Linked DNA regions of Homo sapiens: all the other regions are linked to region 3. Evidence: promoter capture Hi-C in 16 types of primary human blood cells and fetal thymus (Javierre and others, 2016). All regions are on one chromosome and are shown on one strand. Each heading gives the region's core, a stretch centred on a gene start or on the middle of the fragment in contact. The rest is flanking DNA. Distances are from core to core; before and after follow the strand shown.

Region 1 (3,503 bases), core at 892-3,391, 700 kb before region 3:
AGGCTGCCAGATGAGCAAGACAGCTCTAGCCCCAGGGCAGAGGTGCTGGCAGAGATGTGGGTCTGACCCCTAGGGGATGGATGGTCCCCTTTGACTCTGATCCTTTGGGGCACCCAGCCCCATAGCCAAGCGAAAGGATGCTGTGCATTGAATGAGGAGATCTTGAGAGGGGGATGAAGAGGGAGTGCTCTGGGTAAGCAAACTGATTAGAAAAGTCCAAATGAGCCCAACGGATGCCAGGAAGAGGAAGACAGTAGACTTTGGGAAGCTTGCAACCTTCAAGTCCAGCACTTGGCTGTTTCTAAAGCACTTTTCCCAAGATTATCGCACAGTATACACCTGCTCGGTTTCAAGAGAAGGTCCAAGATTAGAACGAAGGCCAGTCTCAGGAGTGTGCAGCCTAAGCAGTCACACAGCGTCCCACACTTAGAAGGGCTCTGCACGCTTGAATTAATGCTCTACTGCCACTGACTTGAAATGCTTAATAATTTTTAAACAAGGGGCCCTGAATTTTTATTTTGCACTAGGCCCCACAAGTTTTATAGCCAGTCCTAGCTAAAACCTTTATTTTATAAGAGAGAAAGCTGACCCGTAGGGAGCAGATGTACTTAGTCTAAGTTCACGTGACTGAAAGTGCACCTCAGGGGCTAATGCATTTGCACTTAGCTGCTTTCAGGCACCAGCAACTAGACTGAAACAGGCCTTCAGTGTGGGAAGGCATTCCTGGGGTTCCCGTGGCAGAAAGGTAGGGGTAGCTGGAATCACAGCTCCCTCACTTGTTCTAAGGATCCAACTCAGAACTGGAGAAATCCAGGCTTTAGGGAGCTCTCAGGCTCGTAGGGAAGCAGACAGCATTAAGAAAATACAATTGGAATAGGAGCTGAGGAGGTGACAGCAGGACAACACCTGTTAGGGGCTATCTGGTGTCCCCCAAAATTCATATATTGAATTCCTAAGCCCTAGTACCTCAGAATGTGACTGTTTAGACATGGGGCCTTTAAATAGGTAATTAAGATAGAATGAGGCCGTTAGGGTGGTCCCTGATCCAATATGACTGGTGTCCATGTTAAAAAAGGAGATTCAGACACAGACTTGTGCAGAGGGAGAACCATGTGCGGACGCAGGGAGAAGTGGGCCATCTACAAGCCAAGGACAGAGGCCTCAGAATGAACCAACCCTGCCCACACCTTGGTCTCCAACTTCCAGCCTCCAGATCTGGGAGACGATGCATTTTTATGGTTTAAGCCTCCCAGTCTGTGATGCTTTGTCATGGTAGCTGGAGCAGACTAGTATAACATCCTTCATTCCTCCCACTCCTGTGAAATAAAGCCTATGACTCTTTCACAGAGAAAGGGCCCAAGACTTTAAGGGGTTAACTATCTTGCTCAGGGTCAAACCAGTAGGCAGCCATGCCAGGACTTGAACGCAGCTTGATCTGTCCCTAAGCCTGTGTTTTCCACTCCACCAGCCTAGGGGGAATTGCACCCCAATTCGCCCAATTCAGAAGGTCTGAATCCCTTTCCTAGGCATGCCCATCCCTCTGCTGCCCTGTGGGCTCAGGGACTTCCTGGCACAGATCTCCCAACCCCAGACTCAAAGCTTCCCTGTGGTTTGCATTCCTGCCCTAGACTAAGAGGACTGCCGTGGCTGGATCCTTTGACAGAAGGACTCTGGAGCCATATCAACATTTACCCTAACCCTAAGGACCAAACAAAAGAGTGAATATGACAAGCCTTTATAAGTGTCACACACCAGAGTTCCAGGTGCATGGGGTTCATGAACACCAGCACTAAGGGAACATTCTTCCTTTACTATTAAAGTAGCTACATCAGGAAATCACAGATTCTGTTGCCTTTATGTGGAGGAGCAATTCAGCTCTCTCTGTGACTCCCTCATTTCAACCCAGAGGCAGCCAGGTATCTTCCTAAACAAAGAGCTATCTACCCAGGGACAACCATGTTACTCGCCTGAAAAGCAAAAGCAACTGCAGATAGTTAAGGAGATTTTTCTTCTTTCTTCTTTTGTTAAAACAATTTTAGGTTAATGGTGCTTTATTGGGGTATAACATACATACAATAAATTACCCAGATATTGTGTCCAACTTAGTGAAAAATTTAACAAATGTACACTCCCATGGAACCATCATTCTTGTTGATATGGCAGTTGTATTTTTAAATAGAAATCCCACCTTCTTTAGCCAGGCGTGGTGACATGTGACAGTAGTTTGAGCTACTCAGGAGGCTGAGGTGGGAGGATTGCTTGAGCCCAGGAGTTTGAGGCTGCAGTGAGCTAAGGTCACGCCACTGCACTCCAGGCTGGGTGACAGAGCAAGACTCCCATCTTTATTTACAAAAAGAGAAAGAAAATCCCATCTCTCTGCTGCGAGGCTTCCGTGCCATGATGAAGAGAACAAGGGCTGGGGAAGCACAGAGAAGAGTACAAATCCAGCATGGAGGAATCCTGAAAGCATCCCCTCGAGTGTGTGACAGACAGGTAAGCTAGATCTTGTAAAGAGTCTGCTGAGAGGAGACAGGGAATAAAGGGACATTGTAGACATAAGGATAAGCAAAGGCTTAGGGGTTTCCAACAGCTTAGGAGAAAGAGTTCAGAGTAAATACAGCAGAAGATGGCTCATGGGGTGCCATCTGGGGTCAGGAACAGATATGATTATATAAAAATGAAACCAAGCTTGCTGTCTGATTTAGAAGCTATTTCTGCTACCAGAACAGTCAGTGCCTGTCTAACGTTCATGTCAGGTTTTATTGCTTGTGGTCAAAGGCTGTCGCACAGTACACGGAGCAAAGAGCAGAAACTGCATGATTTTTCAGAACAACGTCCAGAATAAATATGAATCTCTGCCTTAAATGGGACATTGCAGAGCAAGTTACATAAAGAATTATCAGTCTAATAGATCACAGCACTAGTTGATCAAAATACTTAACATCAGCTTAGCACGGACGTTTAAAGCAGTCAGCATCAAAGAGATACTTAAAGTTGTAAAACCTAAATGCATGTTTCCCCTCATTGTCCCCACGTCATTTTCTCCCTCTTTAAACGCTTGTCTTACTCTATTGCATAGAATTCATCTTTTTAAGCTGTTTTAAATCCTTTCTGGAAAAATGAAAGTATACAATATACACAGATTACCACATACATAGGTGCATGCCTGTCTGTCTCAGAAACGGCCTATCATTTCACATCAATTTTTAATACCACCCCTACCATAAACCAGATTGCCATATGCACATAAGCCTGTTTCAAGACTATTTCTTCTGTTCCAATAGTCCATTTATTCGTTCCTGGTAGTATACCACACTCTTACTTACTGTATTTTCTTTCATCTAAACAATCAAACATTCTCAAGTCTTTCCCATTAAAAAAAGAAAATTCTCCCACTGCCACCCCCACATGGCCACTAGCTACCATGCTAACTCTCTTTCCACCCTTTTACGGTCACATTTCTCAAAACGTCTGCATGTGGCCCTCTGTTTCCTCAGCCACTT
Region 2 (3,718 bases), core at 393-2,892, 520 kb before region 3:
AATCAGGCAGAAAAGGGACCCAGATAAGGTCCCCACTGCCAGACTGCAGGAAACCAACAACTCTTGCCCTAGAGATGGCCCTACCCTGCAGAGTCTGTGAACCCTGGCAGGCAGTCCCCTCTCCCCACTCTTTGCCAGGGTTCCAGAGCCCCTCCCAACAGGGCCCAACTCACAGCTGCTCACCTTGCTGGGTTGGCCCTGCTGGCAGCGCGGATGCTGCAATAACACAGCCACTTCAGACTCGCTCTGCTTTTCAACTCTATCCAGTTAGGCAGTTCCTGACTCAGGCGTGATGGGTCCTGCTTCACTGGATCTGTCCAAGGCAAAGCAGAGGTATTTTGCTGTGATTCTGTCCCACACACATGTCCCTGCCCAGGCCATGCCAATTCAGACTCTGCATAGGTGTTCACTAGGACCCTGGTGCAGGGATAGAAGAAACTGCTCAACTGACAGAGGGAGCGGAGCGGGGGGAGGAGTCGGGGGACGAATGGTGAGAGGGGTGGGAGGTGAGGAGGGAGGTAGGGGGTGGGGGCAGGGGGGCTGCTGGTAGGGCAGAAGGGATCCTAAGGTAAGGTTGCTGCCCTACCCCCACTGCAAACTCCATTCCCTCCCAAGCTCCGCCCCTACAGCCATGTTGCAACCCTTCCTAAGCCCCACCTCAAAACCTGCACCCCTGCTGCCAAACTCTGCCTATAACTAAGTTGCACCTCTACCCCAAGCTTAGCCCCCCACCAAGTCTAACCCCTTCCACCACCCAAGTCTAACTCGTGCCTCAAGCCCTGCCCCCACCCACAGTCCAACTCCTACCCCAAGCCCTGCCCCCTCACCAAGTCCAACTCCTACCCCGAGGCAAGTCTAACTGATATCCCCAAATCCCCTACCTCCATTCCCCTGCTCCCCCCAATCCCCACCCGGTTATCTACATACACCCACACCACCGACATCAGTGGAAGCAGGCAGAATCTAGGAGGGGAAGGTTCGAAGCCACTTTCCCTCAAGGGCAAGGGCCAAGAGCTACTATCCTGACTGCAGTGTCTCCGGGCAGGTCAAGGGTGGAATAGGTCTCCCTGAAGTTTGTTTGTTTTTCTCTGAAACGGAGTCTGGCTTTGTCACCCAGGCTGGAGTGCAGTAGCGTATCTCGGCTCACTGCAACCTCCGCCCCCTGGGTTCAAGTGATTCTCCGGCCTCAGCCTCCTGAGTAGCTGGGATTACAGGCGTACACCACCACGCCCGGCTACTTTTTGTATTTTTAGTAGAAACGGGGTTTCCCCATGTTGGCCAGGCTGGTCTCCAACTCCTGACCTCAGGTGATCCACCCGCCTCGGCCTCCCAAAGTGCTGGGATTACAGGTGTGAGCCACCGCGCCCGGCCAGGTCTCCCTGAAGTTCTGCCTGGAAATGGCAGGGATTCCTTGGCGTGCTGGGTGTGATCTAGTGGGATCCCGCCTCCAGGGAAACCTATGGCCACCAGCCCCTAGACCCCGTGGAAAATAGCAAGAGTTACTGGGGGGTTCCCCCGTAATCTGGGTTGCTGTCCGAGCCCGGGGTCCAGCTCCGTACCTGCCGGAGGTGCCTCCAAGCCGGAGTTCCCGCGCAGCGCGACCACCACACGTCTATGGCGGCTGCCGCCTCCGTGCTGACTGCGCCACGAGGCTGTGGCGGGAAGAGGTTGTCTGGTGACGACCGCCCCCCTACCCCATGAGCGGAACTGCACACGGCCCGCTCACGGTTGCGCACTGGTGACATAAACCCTCCTACTTCCTGCAAGGTGGTTCCTCACCCCACCCACCCCCGTGCCGACGACGGTGGCAGCCAGGCTCGCCACGTGCCATTTGGCCCAGCAGCCACTGTGGCTCTTCCTCATTGGAGGGGAGCTGTGGCGTCCCAAGCCCATGGGTGAAGGGCCGGGTGCAAATCACCCAGTGCAACGTATAGGCCACGTGAGCGCCCTTATAAACGAGTCATAGCCCTCGTTTATTTTTTATTGGACTGTTCTAGGGGAGGAGGGCAAAAAATACAGCTACTGCCTGCATTTCACAAGGGCATTAGTTTTTTTTCGCTGCTCACTGAGAGCCAGATGACTGAAAATATTCCATTCTCCCATTATTCTCCTGATTTCACGACCAAACATTACGCACCTAGTACCCAAACTGCTTCCTGTCGTTTCCCAAAGCAGGTTTCTTCCACAGAGGGAAGGTCCTGCGGCTTGCAGCGGCCCGAAAGTACTGTTCCAGAAAAGGGTGTGGGTGCGGCACAGGTAGCACACTTCAAGGTGCACACAAATCCCCTGGTAATCTTAAAAAAATGCGTGAAGAGATCTGAGGCAGGGATGGTTCCACTGAAAGCTAGGTTACTTGCTGCATATCCCTGCCCAGGCTGTGTGGAGCAAGGGTCTGAAGCCTATGATTACATTTCAGGGCCAGAAGTTGTGGACCTTTAGTGACAGAATATATTTGTTTTTCTTTCTCTGTGATTAAAAAAGAAAAGGCTTTTTCTGGTACTGTTTTAATAAATATGTTAAAAGCGGACAACATTTTAAATTTATGGTCACTGAGAAAGATATTTGCAGATATCACCTTCTTCAGCCAGGTGTGGTGGCTCACACCTGTAATCCCAGCACTTTGGGAGGCCAAGGTGGGCAGATCACTTGAGATCAGCCTGGCCAACATGGCGAAACCCCGTCTCTACTAAAAATCCCAAAATCAGCTGGGTGTGTAATCTGAGTAGCTGAGTAGCTGTAATCCCAGCTACTCAGGAGGCTGAGGCACGAGAATCGCTTGTACCTGGGAAGCAGAGGTGGCAGTGAACCCAGATCACACCACTGCACTCCAGCTTGGGCAACAAAGTGAGAGCCTGTCTTTTTTTTTTTTTTTTTTTGAGAAGGAGTCTCACTCTGTCACCCAGGCTGGAGTGCAGTGGCGCGATCTCGGCTCACTGCAAGCTCCACCTCCTGGGTTCACACCATTCTCCTGCCTCAGCCTCCCGAGTAGCTGGGACTACAGGCGCCCGCCACCACGCCCGGCTAATTTTTTGTATTTTTTAGTAGAGACAGGGTTTCACTGTGTTAGCCAGGATGGTCTCGATCTCCTGACCTCGTGATCCACCCACCTCGACCTCCCAAAGTGCTGGGATTAGAGGTGTGAGCCACCGTGCCTGGCCGAGATCCTGTCTGGAAAAAAAAAAAGACAATTCAGAGCCCATTAAATCAATCTCCTTCATGTGACAAGGAGAAAATAGTGCTGAAAGCCATTGCTTAGCTGCCTGGTATCACAACATCACAGAAGGTGATGTTTTGGAAAGAGGTTCTGCCTCAGTCACCTCTGGGCTACTGGGTGCTCCCCTGGCCAGACGTATACTTCAATTCATTCTATTTCTCACTAGAAGACTAGCTTCCTCTCTCTCTCTCTTTTTTCTGTCTCAGTCTGTTTTGTGCTTCTATAATCAAATACCTGAGACTGGGTAACATATAATGAACAGGAATTTATTTAGCTCATGTTTCTGAAGGCTGAGAACTCTAAGATCAAGGGGCTGCACCTGCTGAGGGCCTGGCATGCAGGCATCAAGACGTGAAAGCATGTGTAAGAGTGAGCAAAAGAAAGAGAAGAAAGGGGCCTAAACTCATTTTTTAAAAAAAAAATCAGGAACTCACTCCCACAATAACAAATCCACTCCCGAGATAACAGCATTTGTCCATTCACACTGGCAGAGTCCTCCTCACC
Region 3 (3,447 bases), core at 421-2,920:
CAGGAAAAGCTGCCTCAGAGTTGGAGTGGAAGGGGACTGCGGGAGTGTGCAAATGAATATGTGTGAGAGTGTGAGTGGGGAGTGTGTGTGTGAGTGTGACTGTGAGTAACTGTGTGTGAGTGTGTGTGTATGTATGTGCCCATGTGTGTGCTCACTGGGTAAGTGTGTGAGTTGTGTAGGTGTGAGAGCATGTAAATATGTGTGAACCATTGTGTAACTGTGTGGGCCACCGAGCTTGTGTGGGTGAGGGTGAGTGAGCACATATGACTGTGAGGATGTGTCTGCGTGAGATTGTGAGTGTGTGCATGAGTGTGTGAGTGTGTGTTTGTGTAAGTAGGTGAGTGAGCATGAGTTCATGCATATGAGCAGGTGTGAGTATGTGTGCGTGCATGTGAGTGGGTGTGAGTAAGCATGTGTGAGCGCACACATGACCAGGTGTATGAGTGTGTGTGTGCGTGCGTGCGCGAACCTCAGCTTTCCACGGCACCAGCTGCTTCCTGTGGAAGGGAGGGGCAGTCTGTGGGGGTTGTGACGGTTCCCTGGTCTCAGGGGCAGCAGAAGCTTTCTGTCCTTTTGGTCCCTAGCACAGTGGTGCCTCCTCAAAGAGGCCTTCCCTGAGCCGCCAGCAGCCTCTTTCATGGCTCCCCATCAATGGGGTTCCATAGCTCCGACCCCAGCGGCGTGAGCACATTTGCCATCCGACGGCCACTCCCTGCTTTGTGGTCCCTGCTGTGTCCCCAGTATTCAGCTCTGGTCTGGCACACAGCATGTCCAGGGCCCTCTTTGTCCAAGGCAAGAAAGAATTTGAGGCTGCGTCCAGGCCTCTTGCACCTGCCTCAGGCTCCCGCCCAGAGCCTCTACCTGTGCCCCAGCGAGCATTCTCTGCTCGCTGCTCAGAATGCTCGCAAAGGCCGGCCCTGGGGTCAGAGGCCTCCACAGCCCCTGGAGCTGGGAAGCCTGGGGGTCCACCGGCAGGCACGGGGGTCTCTTTCCAGGTAGGTGGGAACGCGTGCTTGTGGGTGTGGACAGGTGTCTGCACTGGGGTTTGTCTGTGTGTCTGTCTCCACTCACACCGGGGATGTATGTGCCCCTGCGTGTCTGTCTCTGGTGCCCACCTGTGTGCAGTCTCTGTGTTCTGCCTAACGGTGGTGTTCCCGTGATAACCGACGGTGAGGATCTCCGGTAAGCGCCGCTTCCTCTGGGAAGACGCATTTGGACGCCCGTACTCTCAACAGGTAATGGAGTTTGCAGGAGACCACCAATGCCTTGGAGTCCACTGAGGCAAGACCCAAGGACCCCACGCTACACATCAGCCACCCGGCTCTGTGCCCCATTTTACTGTTGGGGAGACGCACCTAGAGGGCAGGGTCTGGAGAGGTAGTGGCAGCCTCAGTCGCAAGCTCAGGGTGCTCTCTCTGCACTCACAGGTGCCATGGTCCCCCAGTTTCCATCCCCACCCACCCCCACTCGGCCAGTGCCCTTTGGGGGCAATGCCAGGCCAGGAAGGGCGGGCACCCTCGCGCGTCCTGGGGACAGAAGGGCGCGCACCGGGCGCGTAGCTCCTGAGCCCCGAGGCCCCTGCGCCGCGCACCGCCCCCCGCGCCCGCTCCCTCCTCCCTCCCTCCTCCTCACCCAGCTCCCTCCCCTCCCCCCTCCCTCCCTCCGCGCTCAGAGCTGCGGTTGGAGCCGAGCGCGCCGCGTCGCCCGCCGCCGGTGCAGAGCGTGGGGAGCACTCGGCCGCAGCCCTCGCCCGCCGCAGAGGGTCGCGTCCCGCGCCGCCGGCCAGGCCGCCCCGTGCCCAGGCCTTTCCATCCTTGGAGCGGATCGTTGCCCGCCTGACGCCCGCCCGCAGCGACAGCGCCCGCCGGAGCCGAGGCCGCGGCGGCGGCCGTGCCCATGCCCGGGTAAGTGGTGCTCTGGGCGCGCGGGCGCCGCCGGGGTGGGCGCGGGCGCGGCGCGGGCACAAGGCGCGGGTGGGGATGGGAGGATGACCCGGCAGGTGGTGCGGCGGCAGGTAGGGGGACACGGGTCCCCGCCCGAGGCACCTGAGCCCCGCGCCGGGCCTGCGTGTCCTTGCGGCACTGCGGCCGCGCGTCACCCCGGGGCCCCAGGCCGGCGGGCAGCGCCCCGCACCCTGCACCCTGCGCCCCGCATCGCGCGCGCACGCGCATCCGTGTCTGAGGAACAAGGCCCTTGGGGGCTGCGGGCCGGGGCTCAGGGTGGGCGCAGCCGGGGGCGCGGGATCTGGGCCGGGAGCCCGCCAGTGCGCACGCACCTTCCCGGAGCCTCGGGCACCCCCTCCCCCCCGCGCCCTCACACTGTATCATCCTTCCCCTCTCGCCTTCCCGCACCGTTCCCCGCACGCCCACGCGGCTGCCCAGCAGACCCCACCGCGGTCATGGGCAGTGCCCACGAGAAGCCGCCCGGGGCCGCACTTAGGTAACTTCTCCATCCCTCCAGGAACGGCTGTCTCCCCCTCCTCGCCTGTGTGACCTTGGCCAGCCAGCTTTTCCTGTGGCCGCCTGCGTTTTCTCACGGGTGAAAGCTCTGGCTTTAAGATTCTGGAATTTGGAATGGCAGGTGCGGCATCTCCCAGAGCCTGAGACGATGGGCTTCTCTCTCTGTGACCTGGTGTCCTTCCTTCTGCTGGCCCTTCTGGGGGTTGGTGGCTCAGCCAGCCGGCTGAGGAGGGGTGGGAGGCAGGGCAGGGGCATGGCGCCGGGGCAGGTCAGGACTGGAGGGAGTCTTGGAGAGCCCGCGGTGAGGGCTCCATGAGGGTTTAGGAGAGACTGTGGAAATGCTCCTTCGCTCACTCAAGGGGCAGGGAAGGGACCAGAATTCCTCAACGAGATGCTTGCCATTTCCTGGCGAGGTCATATAACTTTCAAAGATGAAGCCCAGGGCCTCCGACCTCAAAGGAGTCCCTGCCTGCTAAAGGATCAAGTCCAGCCTGTCCCCAACTGGCCCCCATCCTGAATTCCACTGGCACCCTAAACGTCAGCCGACTTCCCCTGGCTGACTTGGGCACCAGTCTGGCAGGCACCCCCTGCACCTCCTCCCCTCCTTTGCCCACTAGGATCTGTGCCCTCACCCCCTGCCATTGCCCCTCACTAGTCAGTGACCATCTTAAGGCAAGGACTGGCTCTTCATTTGCACAGGCCTGGCACAGAGTGGGCACCTGGTTTCTGCATGGCATATTCATGACCTTGACCTCACTGAATCTGCAGACTCACTGAACAGGAGAGGCAAGGCCTGGATTTTTGTCCCCATTTTTCAGATGGGATCATTGAGGCCCCCAAGAGGAGAAGGGATTCAGCCCTGAATTGAGGCCCCTTCCTTCATGAGCAGATGGCTAGGGACATTCCTATGAACCTGGTGGGGCAGGGAGGCGGGGAGAGGTTATCGTAATAATCAAAGACCAGCCCCACTTCCTGAGCTCCATCTGAG
Region 4 (3,938 bases), core at 844-3,343, 540 kb before region 3:
TTTGGAGTTTGTTGTTTAATGTGGGTTCCCCAAATTTCCTTCAGTTATCAGTTTCTAATTTCATTCCATTATGGTAGGTTAACACACTTTGCATAACTTCAACATTTTAAAATTTGTGCAGGCTTGTTTTATAGCCCTGTGCTTTGCTGTGAATGTGTTCTTCATGGGGTTCTCCCTGCACAGCTGCGGTCACTGCCTGTGACCACTGTCCACTCTGCCCTCTGCCTTCACAGCCTCTCTGAATAATGCACCCTGCTTGAGAACTGCCTCTCCCTCTCTCTGAAAGTCTGCTGCACATTGCTCTTCATTTCTGAGGCCCACTGTACACTGTGCTCCGCATTGTGCTAGCTGTCCAGTTGTGAGCTTGCTGCAACGTGGCATGCATAATGCTTGGCTGCCAGATCACCTCCTTATCATGTCCTCTGCCTGTAGTGCCCTTGGCAGATCCCCCTGCTTCAGTATCTCCTCCCACAAATGTCTTCTGCCCATCGATGCCTTCTTTTGATCAGCACCTTGATGTTCCAGTTGGTCACTTAATCACTCAACAAGCATTGATTGGATGTCTACCCATGTGCCAGACGTGGGGGCCCCAGTAAAGTAGACACAGTTTGTATTTCTGTGGAGCTCACAGTGTAAGAGGAGAGGAGTAAATCAAACATCCCACAACAAAATACTGTTGTGATAAGTGCTCTGAACAAAACATACAGGGTATGTTTTGGAGACAGGGTCAAGGCCCTCACTGCAGCCTTGACCTATATGCTATAATATAGTGACCTACTCTGGGCTGCTTGGTTATCGGGGGAACCCGCCCCCAATATTTCAACGTAAGTTCTTTCTGTTTTCCATAAATGTCAGCCAGCTGAGAAATAGAAAGAGTACAAAGAGAGGAATTTTATAGCTGGGCCTCCGGGGGTGACATCACATATTGGTAGGACTGTGATGCCCACCTGAGCCACAAAACTAGTAAGTTTTTACTAAGGATTTCAAAAGGGGAGGGGGTGTACAAATGGGGAGTAGGTCACATGCTTTAAGGGGCAAAAAGCAGAACAAAGATCACATGCTTCTGAGGAAACAGAGCAAGGACAAAATCAGAACTCCTGATAGGGGTCTATGTTCAGCTGTGCATGTATTGTCTTGATAAACATCTTAACAGAAAACAGGGTTCAAGAGCAGAGAACCAGTCTGACCTCAAATTTACCAGGGCTGGGGGTTTCCCAATCCTAGTAAGCCTGAGGGTACTGCAGGAGACCAGGGCGTATTTCTATCCTTATCTCAACCTCATAAGACAGACACTCCCAGAGCGGCCGTTTATAGACCTCCCCCCCCAGGAATGCATTCCTTTCCCAGGGTCTTAATTATTAATATTCCTTGCTAGGAAGAGAATTTAGTGATATCTTCCCTACTTGCACACGTCTGTTTATAGGCTCTCTGCAAGAAGAAAAATATGGCTCTATTCTGCCCGACCCCACAGGCAGTCAGACCTTATGGTTGTCTTCCCTTGTTCCCTAAAAATCGCTGTTACTCTGTTCTTTTTCAAGGTGCACTGATTTCATATTGTTCAAACACACATGTTTTACAATCAGTTTGTACAGTTAACACAATAGTGGTTCTGAGTGGACCTGATGTATATTCTCAGCTTACGAAGATAACAGGATTAAGAGATTAAAGTAAAGACCGGCATAAGAAATTATAAAAGCATTAATTTTGGGAGCTGATAAATGTCCATACTAAAATGAAATCTTCACAATTTATGTTCCTCTGCTGTGGCTCCAGCCAGTCCCTCCGTTCAGGGTCTCTGACTTCCCGCAACATCTCTCCCTTTCTTTTTGAACATAACAGGATTAAGAGATTAAAGACAGGCATAAGAAATTATGAAAGTACTAATTTTGGGAACTGATAAATGTCCATGTTAAAATGAAATCTTCACAATTTGTGTTCCTCTGCCACGGCTCCAGCTGGTCTCTCCGTTCGGGGTCCCTGACTTCCCACAACACTTAGTCAGGGAAGCTTTTTTACATTTTTGTTTTTAGAGACAGATTTTTACTCTGTCACCCAGGCTGGAGAGCAGTGGCATGGTCGTAGCTCACTGCAACCTCAAACTCCTGGGCTCAAGCAGTTATCCAGGCTCAGCCACCTGAGTTGCTGAGACTACAGATGCACATACCACCACATCTAACAGAGAAGCTTTTCACAAGGACATGATATTTGGCTTTAGTATGAGTTTGCTATACAAAAGGAGGCTATCTTCCAGGCCCTCTTTAATGTTCCCCTGCACTCAGCTCCACCCCTCAAGGCTACTCACTTTCCTTGTACAGTGCATCAAGCCTTCTGTGGGGCACTGGGGATACATCAATGAGCAAGACAGACAATCTGTGAATTTGTGGAGTGACCATCTCATGGGGAGAAAGACAAAGCAACAATCCTATTTCAGTCGCAATAGCTAAAGGAGCACAGAGGTGTGTCACCTGGATTTCTGGGGCTAAGGATGGTATTCTGGGGGAGGTGACCTCTGAACTGAAACCTGAAGGATGAGAAAGAATCATTCATTCATTCATCCATTTAATAATTTAAATATTTCCTGAGCACCCACTGTGGGCCACACACTATAGTAGGCACTGAGGACACACCAGTGACAAATCAAAGACCCTGTCCTTCTGGTCAATGATAGGAAGCAGGTGCTAAATAAACATGAAAGTCTTTACTCTTTTTTCATTTTCTTTTGAACCCACTTCTTTGAGGCTCTCACCTCCACCATGGTACTAAAAATGCTAGTGCTAAGGTCCCCAATGACCACCACATTGCTAGACCCCATGCACACTTCTCAGGCCTCATTGACTGAGCAGCAGCGTTTGGTCCAGTGGACATGTATTAGTTTGTTTTCACACTGCTATAAAGAAATACCTGAGACTGGGTAATTTATAAAGGAAAGAGGTTTAATCGACTCACAGTTCCACATGGCTGGGAGGCCTCAGGAAACTTACAATCATGGCAGAAGGTGATGGGGATGCAGGCACCTTCTTCACAAGGCTGCAGGAGAGAGAAGTACAAGCAGGGGAAATGCCAACGCTTATAAAGCCATCACATCTCTGAGAAGTCACTATCACGAGAACAGCATGGGGGGAACTGCCCCCATTATCCAGTCACCTCCCTCTCTCAACATGTGGGAATTATGGCTCCCTCCCTTGACGTGTGGGGATTACAATTCGTGATTAGATTTGGATGGGGACACAGAGCCAAACCATATCAGGTCCATTCCCTTTGCTAGGCCTCTAGGCCCATTCTGCCTTTCCTTCCACCTCACTGGTCACTCCTTTTCTATCTCCATTGCTGGTTCTTTCTCATCATCCCATTCTCTCAACTTTGGAGTACTCTAGGACTTTGTTCTTAGACCCCTTCGCTTTTCTATCTGCACTCACTGCGTTGTATCACTGGGGTCCAGGCTTCAACAGATACAGTATACACTGCCTCCTTCTGGAATTGCAGCTGCTCCAGCCCACATCATCTTCCTGAACTTCAGACTTGTGTTTCAACTTCCCACAGCTCATTTCCACCTGGGGAGTCTAATTGTCATTTCATACTCAACCATGGAAGCCATGCTCTATGCATTGCCATCCACAGCTCCGTAAATGGCAGTCCCATTCTTCAGCTTGCATAGACCAAAACCTACACATCACCTGCTGATCTCCCACTGCACTTCCAGCCCATCAGCCTAGCCTGTTAACTCTCCCTGCCAAACAGATCCAGAGGCAAACCATTTCTCCCCACCTTCACCATAAACATATTGTCCCCTAATCCCCCATGTGGATGATTACAATAACCTAAGCAATCATCTTTCCTTCCTTCCCACCCTGAAGTGTACCCCAGCATGGCTGCAAGAGTGAAGAGTTTCAATCCGATCACATCCCTCTTCTGCTCCATACCTTCCCCAGGCCTCATTT
Region 5 (3,863 bases), core at 490-2,989, 590 kb before region 3:
TCATTCCATATTTGGTCTGTGGGTTTTCTCAGTCTCTCGTACCCCTCAGTCCCCACCAGTCCATGAATGCAGAACTACCCCTGGCCTCACAAATGGCCACTTTGGATACCCTGGTGGGGTCACAGGCTGCGGTTGCCCCTGCAAATGGTTGGTAGAAGCACGGGTTGGGAGGTTTCATTTCTACCCAGAAGGGCCCTTGCTGTGCCTGAGGGAGGGCTGGGCTCAGGTCAGGGGTGGGAGACCGGGGAAGGGGCCTACAGGTCAGTGGCCCGAGCTCAGCTGCAGCACCAACAAGGCTCAAGGCCAAGGAGGAGATGAGAGCACATCAAAAGGGGGCAGTGGGTCTGGGCGGCCCACCGCACTCACCAGCCCAAGAAGGGGGAGACTTTTCTCACCTGCAACCCACTGGGTCTCTCCTTTGGCCCGCAGCTCAAGAGGTGAGGAAATTGTCCGCCTGCAGATCCTGACACCCAGGGCAGGACTCCGCCTGGTGGCCCCAGACGTGGAAGGCATGAGGTATGGGGGTCCTGCTGCTGTCCTGGCTCCCTGGACACCATTCTAGAGATGGAAGCAGCAGCCTCAGGTGGCAAATGATGAGGCCTAGGGCCGGCTCTGCCACTGTAGGGCCAACAGGTTGATGGGAGGCATGGTCGACCTGGGTTTTCTGCCCCATCTCATTCTTTCACTCAGAAAACCATTATGGAGCAAGCGCTTAGTCTGTGTAAGGGCACAGGCCCGACCCTGGGACACAGTAGTGAACAGGACCCCCTGGCTGGAATTGCCATCTGCCTGGTGGGGGAGGCAGACGCCGACATGAGCATGAATGAGGTCAGCCAGAGATGCTGTGTGCCAGGAGCCCCTGGGAAGTGACAGCTCAACCCTGCCAATTGCTGAAGATGGGACCAGTCAGCCGTGCTGGGGATGTTGGTGGGGGTGGGAGGAGGATTGGGTCTAAGGAGCCCGTGAAGGCCACTGAGGCCATTGCCCTGCCTGTGTGAGAGGGCCACTGGGAATAGAGTGGGGTCACTGGGTCAGAGTCCACAGCTCTCCATGCCACTAGGCTCTGTGCTGGGGAGGGGTGGGTCAAGGAGGCCACAACCAGCAGGGAGCACGAGGGGCTCAGCCTCTGCCCTGGGGTGGGGGTCAGACAGCCAGGTGACATGCAGGCAGGATTCGGGGGCTGGGGTGGAGGCTAGGAGAGATCCGAGCAGGGAGACTGGGCCCCTACCTTGTGAAGGCCAGGGACTGGGGAGAGAAGCGGGAGTGTACACTGAAGGTCATCCCTTAATCCCTGGGGTGGCAGGAACTTCGAGCAGAGGCCTCTCAACAGTGTGGTGGGTGGGAGTGCTTGGGGAGGGCTTCCTGGAGGAATTGACATCCAAGATGAGTCCTGAGCGATCTCTAGGTCCCTTTACCCTCCTCCTTGGCTCCTCCCACTTTAATTCTGCCCCCAAGGCACCAAGTCCTGTCCACTTTATTTTAGAGATGTTTCCATCCCTATTGCTCTGCCCCTGGCCCAGGCCTCCACTGCTACTCACCCAGTTGTCTGCGACCGTTTCCTACTGTCCCATCCCTGGACTCCCTTCCACATCTACCTGGGTGATGTTTCCAAAGGGCAGAAGTAGTTATGCCAGCCCCCTGCAGAAAGCCCTGCAAAGCCCCTCCCACTATGCTCTGCAGCCTGAACTCAGTACCTGGCCCCACCTGCAGGCTCCTCCCTCCCTGGGCCTTTCTCTGTGCAGGCTGGAGGCTCTGCCTGAGATGCCCTTTCCCCTCTTCATCTTTCTGTTCCACCTCAAATGTCCTGTCTTCTGGGTCATGTCCTTCTCCTGAGTTTCTTCCCCAGGCAGCATCTGAGGGCTTGTCGATTCTGCATGGCAGCATCCATTCTGCATGGATGTAGATACAATCACTATGCCCATTTTACAGATTAAGAAACTGAGACCCTGAATGGTTAAGTAACTTGCTCAAGGTCACATGGTCCAGAGCAGGCAGATCCGCTCAGCCTGCCCTACTCCCACCTTCCACCTTCTGCACCATAGCTCATTGTACTAGTTGGGGCAGGGAGCAGGGGGACAGAGAGGGGTGATGGAAAGACTTGGCATTTGCTGAGTGAACTCATTTGACGAGTTTATTCGTAGGCATTGAAGTCAAAATTTCCAGGAGGGAGGTATTTTAAGGTTTGTGATTGAGGTTTGAGAGAGTGATTAGGGCTCAAGAGATTTCCACGTTATATGCAGACAGAATAGAGCTGAAATCATGAGCGTAAACTAGCTTTACATGGGGCTCATGGTGAGCCAATGGAAGCTGGGCACCGACCTCAGTATGCAGGTGGCAGCCACCTGGCCAGCCCTCCTGGGGACAGCTGGGCGAGGGCAGTCTCTTCTCGCCATGTTGAGAGTGGGCCTCCTGAGGGCCAGTTGGGAGTTAGTGGGTGTGCAGGCCAGTATAAAGGAGAGGCAGGAACAAGTGGAGATCCCTGCTTCAAGGGTGGCAGTTGACACCTTGGGAGGGGAGGAGACAGCCCAGCAAGTGGTGGAGCACGCCAAAGGGAGGAGAAAAAGGCGGAGACCAGGAAGGTGTGTGGCCAGGGAGGTAGGCAGGTGGTGTTGACAGGATCAAGGGAGGAGGGGTGGTGAGAAGGCTGGAGTGGCCCACTGGGTCAGCAGTACTGAATGGTGGTTTGAAATAATGATGGGACTGTCTCTCCTGGATTTGACAACATGGGGCTCCCTGAGGACCTGAAGGAGAACAGAAGGGGGCTTAAATTAGGAGATTAGGATCAGGGATATAGTCCAGAACTCAAATCCCAGCTACTCCTCTTATTACCTGTGAAATTTGGGGCAAATCACAGGGGCTTTGTGTGCCTCCGTTTGCTCATCTGAAAGATGGGCATGGGTGATAACAGTGCCCATATCCTGGGGTTGATTTGCAGAGTTAATGCATATAAAGTCACGAGAACAGGCTCAAATGCTCAATCAACAGTAGCTATTGCCAGGCACAGTGGCTCACACCTGTAATCCCAGCACAGTAGCTATAAAACAACAACAACAAAAAACAAAAAACAGTAGCTATTAGTAATGAAGTTTTGATAATTGGCCAATCTGTCAATCAGCAGGGTTTGTTTGTTTTTGGTTCTGTTTTTTAAGACAGCATCTTGCTGTGTGTGCCCAGGCTCAAGTGCAGTGGTGCCATCACAGCTCGCTGCAGCCTCAACCTTCCAGGTTCAACCTCCCAAGTAGCTGGGACCACAGGCACACACCACCACTCCTGACTAACTTTCAAAAATATTTTTGTGGAGATGGAGTCTAGCTGTGTTTCTCAGGCTGGTCTTGAACTCCTGGCTCAAGTGATCCTCTTGCCTCGGCCTCTCAAAATGCTGGGTTATAGGCGTGAGCCACTGCACCCGGCCCAGTAGCAGGTTTTAAGCTCCGTGGAGACAGCTGGCGTTTGAGGATGAGGTAACAGCCCACACCTGAGTGTGAATGGCTGCTGCATGGTTAACTTCCATTTCTTTCCTCCATAGGTCTTCCCCAGGCAACAAAGACAAGGAGGCCCCCTGCTCCAGAGAGCTCCAGAGGGACTTGGCTGGTGAGGAGGCTTTCAGGGCCCCCAACACAGATGCTGCAAGGTAACTCAGTGCAGGAAGCAGACACTTCATTCCCAGAACACGGAGCCCACATACACCCAGCTGAAGGACTTCCATGGCCTCCGGTGCAATGTCAATGGATGCAGCTGGGGCCAGGAAGGTCCTGTTCCCACTGTTCCCCCAGTACCTGGGGTACTGCAGGTCTTTAATGAACATCTGTTGAAAGAAAGAAAGAATGAATGAATGAGGCCTGGAGGGAGGTAGGCCCCTGCCA

The links. Contacts are between HindIII fragments. The CHiCAGO score rates a contact against its expected background, and 5 or more counts as called.
Region 1: a fragment that was not itself captured here is called in contact with the fragment with the promoter of ATP2B3 in region 3 in 1 of 17 cell types (neutrophils); the score reaches 6.5 in neutrophils.
Region 2: a contact is called between the fragment with the promoter of PNMA5 here and the fragment with the promoter of ATP2B3 in region 3, in 2 of 17 cell types (total CD8 T cells and activated CD4 T cells). The highest score is 5.3, in total CD8 T cells.
Region 4: a contact is called between a fragment that was not itself captured here and the fragment with the promoter of ATP2B3 in region 3, in 14 of 17 cell types (M1 macrophages, total CD8 T cells, non-activated CD4 T cells and 11 more). The highest score is 12.1, in M1 macrophages.
Region 5: a contact is called between a fragment that was not itself captured here and the fragment with the promoter of ATP2B3 in region 3, in 4 of 17 cell types (non-activated CD4 T cells, total B cells, activated CD4 T cells and 1 more). The highest score is 6.6, in non-activated CD4 T cells.

Annotation. Positions count from the first base shown.
Region 1 is chrX:152,810,649-152,814,151 of GRCh38, forward strand. No RefSeq gene overlaps it. Among named protein-coding and RNA genes, the nearest start is that of CETN2, 18 kb to the right of the region's middle. The HindIII fragment of the contact is 1,089 bases long and covers 1,598-2,686 here.
Region 2 is chrX:152,992,474-152,996,191 of GRCh38, forward strand. It overlaps PNMA5 (PNMA family member 5), which reads right to left and starts at 1,643. Exons shown (of 4, transcript NM_001184924.2): 1 at 1,560-1,643; 2 at 184-313. The HindIII fragment of the contact is 6,257 bases long and covers 718-3,718 here.
Region 3 is chrX:153,515,972-153,519,418 of GRCh38, forward strand. It overlaps ATP2B3 (ATPase plasma membrane Ca2+ transporting 3), which reads left to right and starts at 1,671. Exons shown (of 22, transcript NM_001001344.3): 1 at 1,671-1,904; 2 at 2,461-2,580. The HindIII fragment of the contact is 7,787 bases long and covers 560-3,447 here.
Region 4 is chrX:152,975,510-152,979,447 of GRCh38, forward strand. No RefSeq gene overlaps it. Among named protein-coding and RNA genes, the nearest start is that of PNMA5, 17 kb to the right of the region's middle. The HindIII fragment of the contact is 177 bases long and covers 2,006-2,182 here.
Region 5 is chrX:152,928,146-152,932,008 of GRCh38, forward strand. It overlaps ZNF185 (zinc finger protein 185 with LIM domain), which reads left to right. Exons shown (of 25, transcript NM_001395254.1): 13 at 430-516; 14 at 3,527-3,631. It overlaps LOC105373372 (a long non-coding RNA gene), which reads right to left. Exons shown (of 3, transcript XR_007068369.1): 2 at 2,830-3,805; 3 at 2,110-2,741. Among named protein-coding and RNA genes, the nearest start is that of ZNF185, 32 kb to the left of the region's middle. The HindIII fragment of the contact is 4,438 bases long and covers 1-3,863 here.